Regions from separate parts of the Homo sapiens genome. Here region 1 is linked to region 2. The links are contacts of gene promoters, found by promoter capture Hi-C in blood cells and fetal thymus (Javierre and others, 2016). All regions are on one chromosome and are shown on one strand. The core of a region is centred on a gene start or on the middle of the fragment in contact, and the rest is flanking DNA. Distances in the headings are between cores, read along the strand shown.

Region 1 (4,329 bases), core at 1,324-3,823, 92 kb after region 2:
ACTTATATTGTCTTCCTAAAATTTCCCCATAACTCTAAAAGGAAGGTCTTGTTTGATTCATTTTATAGATGGAATAAGACCCACAGAGGATTATGAAATTTATCCTAAGTCACGTAGCCAGTTCTGTGGAGTAGGAACTTAAAACTATATCAGTTTGATTCTAAAGAGTGTACTCTCTACCGTGTTACCATCAAAGGACAATTTGACAAATGAGGGTCACTTTAGGCCCTTACATTATAGAACTCTGGATCCAACTCAATTGGATCTTATTAGGGCTGCCAGATAAAAATGAAGGATGCCAGTTCAATTTGAATTCCAGAAAAAAAATGACTTTTTAAAGTATAAATATGTACCATGAAACAGCTGAGATATACTTTACTAAAAAAAATTATTTCTTTGTAATTCAAATTGAACTGGGTGTCTTGTAATTTTTTTTTTTTTGGCTTAATCTGGCAATTCTAACCCTAATAGATTCTTTAGATGAGAGAAAAGAAACTTTTTGATTTCTTCTACCTTGAAAATCCTGGGCAGTTCAAAAACCTTGATCTGAGAGCAATTCTCTAGCTGCCCTCTGTGACTCTGGCAGGGCTGGGATGTGTCAGTTACTGGTGGTCCACTCTGAGCACAGCGCAGATCTTGGCTGCTCACCAGCTATTCCCAGGGTCCCAACCACACTTGGGACAGACACAAGGTTTGCCTGTCTACCGGGGGTAGAGAGGGCCCACAGAACGGGAACTGAATTTAGTGAGCAGAGGAACTGGCAGTGCATTTCCTAAAGCCTGAAAGCTAATGACTTCTCTGTGCTCTGATGGAGAAGTCAAAGGGTCAGGATCTCATGACCAAGGTTTACAGTATTTGTTCAATTTCTTTTGTTTTTTTTTTTTGTTTTTTTTTTTTGGAGACGGGGTCTTGCCCTGTCGCCCAGGCTGGAGTGCAGTGGCACAATCTCAGCTCACTGCAAACTCCACCTCCTGGGTTCACACCATTCTCCTGCCTCAGCCTCCCAAGTAGCTGGGACTACAGGTGCCCGCCACCACACCTGGCTAATCTTTTGTATTTTTAGTAGAGATGGGGTTTCACCGTGTTAGCCAGGATGGTCTTGATCTCCTGACCTCGTGATCCGCCCGCCTCGGCCTCCCAAAGTGCTGGGATTACAGGCGTGAGCCACCGTGCCTGGCCTGTTCAATTTCTAAATTAATTTATTAACTCATTTGACAAATATAATATATATGGCATGATTACTGTACACCATGCACTGTTGTAGGTTCTGAGACTGGAAGGACAGCCTCATGAAGCTAGTCCAGTAGGGGATAAAGGAAGGAATCACAGCATGAGCAGGTGGTCCAGGGTCCTGGCCAATCTCACCATCCCTGGTACTGGCAAGGGTAATAATTTAGTAATAATCAGAATTTAAATAAGAGAAAAATCTTGGAGGCGAGGATAATAATTGCAACCCAATTGTCAAGGAAATAAGAAAACAGTATGGACTGGAAGTTATAGAATATGAGGTTTCAGGAATATGCAGTGTGGCCAGTAAAGAGAGTCATTGTTAGCACGAGCCAAAGACTGTCAGGGAGGTTTGCAGTTAACAGTATTAGCATAGGCTGGTGTGATGGGTCATGCCTGTAAACCTAGCACTTCGGGAGGCTGAGGCGGGAGGGTCACTTGAGCCCAGGAGTTTGAGGCTGTAGTGAGCTATGATTGCAATTGCACCACTGCACTACAGCCTGGCTGATGGAGCAAGAACTTGTCTCTCTTAAAAAAAAAGAAAAAAGAATATTAGCATAAATCTGCAATGGGTGAAATAAGGAATCTTATGGAGACAAAGCCCCCACACACTAGTTTTTATAGAGGAGACTGTCTCAGGGTAAGAGGCAAAAGCAATTTGGAGTTCTCTGGGGCTTTTCAGGATCTTCCTTCCAAGAGCAAGTTTTGTTAACTCTTACGAAAGAAAGGAAGAAAGAAAATAACGTCATCCAAAATGACACATTAATTGCTTAAATTTATCTTTTTCAATAATTTTCTTTGATTTGTATTTGAAGAATGGCAATGTGCATTTCTGTAGCCAAATTAAAGTCTGAGAACACCATATTGGATAGGTCCGTGGTGTGGATAGAAGAAGGCATTGAAGATTTGTGAAAAGTGGGGGCTGAAGAACCTTATGTCTCGACGTAGAGTTGAAGCACAAACGTATTACTTAATTATCCTTCATTAACTTCTGTATGTGCGTGTGTATTAAGATGTGTTGAATATATTCATGGGTGTTGGTATTCCTGCTTCAGAGGTCCTCCTGTCCAGACAACTACACTGTCATCTCCCAGAACTAAGAGAGAAGTTTCTGGTTCATGTGAGGATTAAACAAAATAATCCTATCTTAAACTATAAGGACATGAAGGACTATAAAAAAACAGAGGCCATAAAAAATGCTCAATAAACATTTAGAGTCAGGTTATTTTACAGCTGGATGGAAGAATATGTAAAGCTTAAAGAAATTGCAGATGCTGTAAAAGACTATAGATATCACTGAGTCCATTTTCCTCTCTTCGTAACTGACAGAACTGGTAGTCACAGAGAAGTACAGCATCATAATAAATTCACGTAGAATGCTTGTGGCAAATCTATTTTATTTATTTATTTTTAAATTTTAATTTGTTATACCTAATGTGAAGCTTTAATTTAATTTATTTATTTAAAAATTGTTTTCAGTGGCAGATCCATGGGAACAGCATAGCTACCTAGATTTCTGAGTTTTAAAATCTATCAATTGTCCGTTTACACAACTGATAGATTGTGTAAGTAATGTAGCAGAAGGTAAGTTTCCATTCCATTCCATTAAGTGCCTGCATTGATTTATACTCTGTTTTCTTAAAGATCCCTTTTAAAGATGATAACTTCTCCCCTTTTGTGTCAACACAAAATACTGAGCTTTCTTGTTGAAGTACTTTTCTTCTCCAGCCTGAAATAAAGATCTAATAACCAATGGTCCCCATGACTTGAAAGATCTTCTTTTTTTTATCTTTCACTGTCTAAGGAGGCTGAAAGGGAAACATCAGCCGCCCGGGGGGAGTTAAAATGAGTGACAACACTACTCTGCCTGCTCCAGCTTCAAACCAGGGTCCTACCACCCCACGCAAAGGCCCTCCCAAGTTCAAGCAGAGGCAGACTCGCCAATTCAAGAGTAAACCTCCAAAGAAAGGTGTGAAAGGGTAAGACCAAAATGAAAAGAAAAACTTTCTATTACTTTCTTTTTCCCACAAGACTGCTTTTGTTTTGGGAAATTGGTGCTCACAATATTAAACAGACTTACAAAAATTTCCACTCCATCCTCTCTTTTCCTCTGTAACTCCATCTTTGATGAATTGTGTCTTTATCCCTGGAATTCTTTCCTTCTCAACTTCCAGGTCTGTGGCCGAATTTAACATGGCAAATAGAGGCTTTTTACAATAAACTTTGACTTTGCCTTGCAGGCTTTTGATGACCACTCCTCTTTACTGAGACAACCTCTACGTTAATCTGTAACACTGAACCACTGACCATTTCCAGAAAATATAGCTTATATTTATGTCTTCCAATTTTGTATCCTCAGTTCTTTATTTTCCTCTTCCTCTCCTTGGCAAAATCCTATTGATTTTTCAACACACAGATCATATGCTAATTTCTTTTTGAAGCTACTCCTGACTCTCTTTAACAAACTATCATTACTTTCATGTTTGCATTTTGTACATTCAGCTATCATAACTTACATTATATCTTATATTTATTTATTTGTATCTATTCTCCGAGGCTAAGACCACTCAGAAAATTTGTCTGTTTTCTTCTTAACTCTCTGTGCTTAATAAAATGCCTGGTATATAATAGATGCTTAGTTAATGATTTTGAATAAGTAAACAAATGGATGAATTCATCATTTTTAATGCCTTTTGTATTGCTTTCTCATTTCAATTTTTATTATAAAAAGTGAAACTTGACTAAGTTGTCCCACTGATGGTTCTTTCTGACTCTTAATTGTTTTAGGTTAAGTTCCTACAGGAGAGAAATATCTCTCCAGTGGGATACACCAAAACCTGCCTGAGTGACATTTTCTTTGCTCCAGTTCAGGGCAAACTAAAGGAGTTTCTCACATACAAACACTTAAACCTCTCCTTCTTCCCCCTTGAATCAAGAAACTCTCCATGTGAGTGACTCCAAAATTCTTTTGCTCTAATCTCAGCTAATTTCTCCTTTATTCTTTTCCATAGATTTGGAGATGACATTCCAGGAATGGAGGGGCTAGGAACAGGTAAGCCATCCACTGATTTAAGTGAGAACTTCGCACTTGGAGTTCTGCCT
Region 2 (4,801 bases), core at 2,232-4,731:
CTCCATGCCCCCCTATATTAAGAGATATTTAAAGAACAGGGAGAGGCTGGGTGCGGTGGCTCAGGCCTGTAATCCCAGCACTTTGGGAGGCTGAGGTGGGTGGATCACTTGAGGTCAGGAGTTCAAGACTAGCCTGGCCAACATGACAAAACCCCGTCTCTACAAAAAATGCAAAAATAGCTGGACATGGTAGCACGTGCCTGTAATCCCAGCTACTTGGGAGGCTGAGGCACGAGATAGTGCCACTATAATCCAGTCTGGGCAACAGAGTGAGACTCTGTCTCAGAAAAACCAACCAACCAACCAAAAAAAAAACCAGGGAGGGAAGGCAGAACAGGAGATTTTTTTTTTTTTTTTAATGAAAATAGAAGTTTTCTTTCTGTCCTCCTTTCTCTCCTCCTTCCTTCTCCTTTCCGGATCTTTCCCCAAATAATTTTCTAATAATTCAGTTGTTTTCTGAATATTGCTTTTAAGTTTTTTGATTTTAAAGATACAATTAGAAATAATGTATATGATGAAAAAGCTGTTTCCCACTCCAATTCAGATCTGTGATCTACACTGGGAAAAATGACCACTCCTCATGAAGTTTTGTTACTGACCTCTCTTGGACTTTAGCTCTCCATCTCTGCTGAGGGGATATGAAGGTATTTGCATTTCTCCTGTTAATGAAGGGATCTTAGAACAGAAAATAAATAAATGCAGTTTTAGCGACACATAGCTGGAAATATTTCCGTGAATATTCCTTGACACAAATATATTTGAAAGTGCCTTAACTTATGCAACTCATATAAACGGAGATTGGCAAAAATTAAAGGAGAGTATAAAGTAGATTTCATTAACTTCCTGATCAAATGAAATCAGTAATCAATCCATGTGTCTTAGAGACTTGTCATATAGGCTTTGTTGGTTTTGAGTTTGGACGATCACTTTGCCTTTCTTAATTTCTGTATTTCTACTTGGTAGATTTTAAATTCCTTTTGAGGAGAAATTCTCTGTCCTGAGGATTTATGAAGCATAACTAGATTGCCGATACATGAACAGTTTAAACACTATAAAAATAATGAATAAATTAAAAATGAGAGTGATGTGCCATTTCCTCCTATGCTCAGTCTTTATAAATCCAGCTATTCAACAGCAATCAGCTGGCTGGGTGTGGTGGCTCATGCCTGTAATCCCGGCACTTTGGGAGGCTGTGGTGGGTGGATCACTTGAGGCCAGGAGTTCGAGACCAGCCTGGACAACATGGTGAAACCCCATCTCTACTAAAAATACAAAAATTAGCCAGGCATGATGTCATGGGCCTGTAATCCCAGCTACTCAGGAGGCTGAGGCATGAGAATTGCCTGAACCTGGGAGGTGGAGGTTGCGGCGAGCCGAGATCACACCACTGCACTCTAGCCTGGGCGACAGAGTGAGACACTGTCTCAAAAAAAAAAACAAGAAAGAAAAACACAAAAAAACCAAAACAGCACTCAGCTTAACGTGGCGCCTGTGGTCTCCCAGCTGACTTGGCGTCCAGCTCTGTGCTTTACCATTTGTCATTACTCCTCGTTTTCCATCTGTGCAGTTGACGTGGTGCCAATTTAAAATTTCCAAATGAGATTTTATGGCTTCTAAATATGTCGCCTGTAGCTTAAATCCCATATTGCACTACTTCAAACTTAAAAAATTGCTCCTTTGGCAATTTTTATAGTCATTAGATTTAAAAATTTACTTTAGTTTTCCAAAAGAGGCCCCCTTTTCCCTCCCTGTTATATATCTTTCCATCTTGTTTATTTAAAAATAAGAAGAGGTTCTTTAATGCAAGGGATTTGAATAAAGAAGTTAAATATTCACTTACTAAGTTCATAAGATTCCATGCTTTCATGTGATTCTGAAATTAAAAAAAAAAGATTCATTATATCAATATTTATCCATGATTCATTATGTTATTATTTATCAATTTAGACACTGTGATAGTTTAAATACAGGGATGGAAGAAGAGGAAAGAGTCTAAAAACATGAAGAATATATTTAGCAGTGTGGTTATTAGAAATTTCAGGAATTTAGGATTTATGAGGTTTTTCTCTAGCTCTGGCCTTGCTGTGGATATCTCTATATTTTAGTTTCTCTGATGTTGAAGGAGGGAGTGGCCATTTTCAGCTAAAATTTCCCAAGGGCTATGACGTCTTCAGACAAGCAAAATAAGACACTTTAAGTGCTGTACAGAAGTCTCCAGAGAACCTTCTTCTCTGATTTATTCAGAGCCTGTTTGAGAACAGGGTCAAAGAGGATTAAGAAGGATCCAGAAGACAGCCAGGTTTCTCCAGGCAAGAGAACTACAGGGCAGTTGCTCTGCTGGGCTTACTAGGGCAGGTTTCTAAGAGGGTTCCGAAAGCCTCTTAAGAACCTGTGTTAAATTGGCAGCCACAGAAACCACTAGCTCCAGCTGACAGCTCACCCTGGGCACGATGCCAGTTCAGAGAGAGAACTGAAACGATATCAAAGCCGAAGTTTTCTTCTTTCTGCCACTCTCCTGAGCACAGCAGATAAATTTTGGAATAAGAAGCTTCTATTAATATTTGCCAGCAAGTGAATTTTCTTCAAAACTTAAAAAGGAGGTGAAGAAATCAAATCCTCTAATACAGAAAATTTGTGAATACAAGAGTGAGAAGCATAATCTTTATGGTTGTTAATGTAATTTAAATTTTAAAACAATGAAAATATCTAGGTAATTGAAACAAAAGACTGAAATAAGTAAATAACTTTGCTTCAGATTTCCTTTTATAAGCTTTGAACAAATGCAGGTATATTTAATGACATATAGAAAACAGGCAAAATTTATTTTCTGACAACAGGAGTTATGAAAATGATTCTTTTCTAAAATTCTTTTGATGTAAAACTTTATTTTAAAATTAATTAACTGAACAAACATAGTAAGTTCATGAGATTGTCCAGTCCCTAGAAAGGGCTATACTTAATACTTCACATAAAAATGGATTTTCTCAAAGGCAAGTGGTTTAAACAATACCCTTAACCCATTGATACCAAAGTCTAAATAAATATCCTTAAAAATGAGGATGCAGGGGGCTGGGAATTTGGTATCTTCTTTCTGAAATATGAGTTTCTAGATATACAGAGACTTACCACTGAACGGGTTTGCCTGTTAAGTTGCATAAGACTCTGGATATTTAGGATATAAAAAAGACTTAATAGAACAGATCAGTTTCTGCGGAGACTGGGAAATGTGAAAGTAATGGTACTTTAAGATTATAACAGAGAAAGGGGGAAGAAGAGGAGGAGGGAGAGGAAAAATAGAAGTAAGCCAAAGTCAGAGGCAGAAAAGTAAACACAGAGAAATGGGAGAAAAGTTTCTCACCATAACACAAAGTTACTACCGCTAAGGCGGCCAGGATGGCAAGAAGGATCAGGCTCTTCATGGTTTCGTCCTGCAGGTCAGTCTCAGGGTCTTGTGTAGCAGCAGTAGGGAGAGAGGCTCCTACGGGATGTTAGTGGAAGGCTGTGAGGTTTTTATAAGAACCAGAGCAGTTGAGAGGGGAGGAACCAGTGGGAGAGAGCTGGAGAAGGTGGGGAAGGGTTGGCACTGAACTAGCATTGGAACTTTTCCCAAACAGTCATTCCTTCCAGATATTATCTACTCTGAGTGGGCAGTTTTCCCTAACTGCTGGACCTGACTGTGTTACACAGGATGCTGCTCTGGTGCAGAAGTTTTGGCCATCGTATGCTTGGGGACAGACCTGGGCAAAAGCCCACAGAGGAAGTTGCCACAAACACATGATCTACCCTCCTGGCCCTGACCGCAGGGCTTTTGGGTTTGGTCCACAGACAGAGCCCTAGTGTTCTGTTTGTTACCCTGATTGATTGATGAGAGGTTTTGGGGGAGAAAGGACTTCACTTTCTTTTCTTTTCTTCTTTTTAACCTTTGCCTCTTCTTCTAGGAGAACTTCGCTTTCTACACTGATTATAATTTAGACATCTTCCCAGTAGGGCTGAATCCTAGACCAATCTATCAATCCCAGACTAATCAGGCATTTGCCTGGGGATATGCATCTTTGGCATTTTTCCAAGGGTTCATCAGGATGGAGATATCCGGTGCACCATGAGTTCTGTTTCCTTAATCAACACCGTTGTAACTTGCCCATCCAGTTTTGTGACATTAATTCAAACCTGTGCCCTAGTCCTCTTTTAGGCAGCGTATCAGTGCTGGAAAGTGCAGCAAGGATAAGAGGGTACTGTTCTCTCATTTCTGAGGGCGTTGTCTCGATAATTAACTAACTTGATAGACTTTTTAGTGAGTGGCAGGTGAGATGCAAGGTACTGTGCTAGGTGCTGTGGGGGATGTACAGACAAACAACACACCTCCCTAAGGAGGTAAGTAATAGCTACTTACTATTCACTTTGCTCTTTCACTGTAATGTATCCTCAAGCACAGGTTTTCACTACACCATCAGGCCCAGAAGTACTAGCTTATTTTCCACAGGAGGATTTCAGTTTGATGCCTCTGGTTATCTTGTATAGAGAGGTCTTTTCTTTCTTTCTTTTTTTCCCCCTTCTTTTGCAATCACAAAATCTGTCCTACCAGATGTGCCTCTCTTGCTTGGGAACCCAATAGTTTTCTTTGCAGACAACAGACTTGAAGTCACAGAGCAGCAGATTGTAGAAGAGCTACAGCTTCGGGACCTCTGACTCTTGAGCTGGAACAGCAATAGGGCTGGGTTGGGGGTGGGGTGGATGTGTCTTTCAATACTGATGTATTTCAAGGAGCAGTGATGAACTAGGTGGAGCCTCATGCTTCATTCTT

What was found. The method cuts DNA at HindIII sites, captures the fragments that hold promoters and counts their contacts. A CHiCAGO score of 5 or more calls a contact.
Region 1: a fragment that was not itself captured here is called in contact with the fragment with the promoter of MGP in region 2 in 1 of 17 cell types (total CD8 T cells); the score reaches 7.9 in total CD8 T cells.

The regions. Positions count from the first base shown.
Region 1 is chr12:14,974,941-14,979,269 of GRCh38, forward strand. It overlaps PDE6H (phosphodiesterase 6H), which reads left to right. Exons shown (of 4, transcript NM_006205.3): 2 at 3,032-3,206; 3 at 4,239-4,279. The coding sequence starts at 3,073. Among named protein-coding and RNA genes, the nearest start is that of PDE6H, 4.1 kb to the left of the region's middle. The HindIII fragment of the contact is 187 bases long and covers 2,481-2,667 here.
Region 2 is chr12:14,882,373-14,887,173 of GRCh38, forward strand. MGP (matrix Gla protein) reads right to left here and starts at 3,482. Exons shown (of 4, transcript NM_000900.5): 1 at 3,359-3,482; 2 at 1,841-1,873; 3 at 600-675. The coding sequence starts at 3,419. The HindIII fragment of the contact is 4,253 bases long and covers 2,769-4,801 here.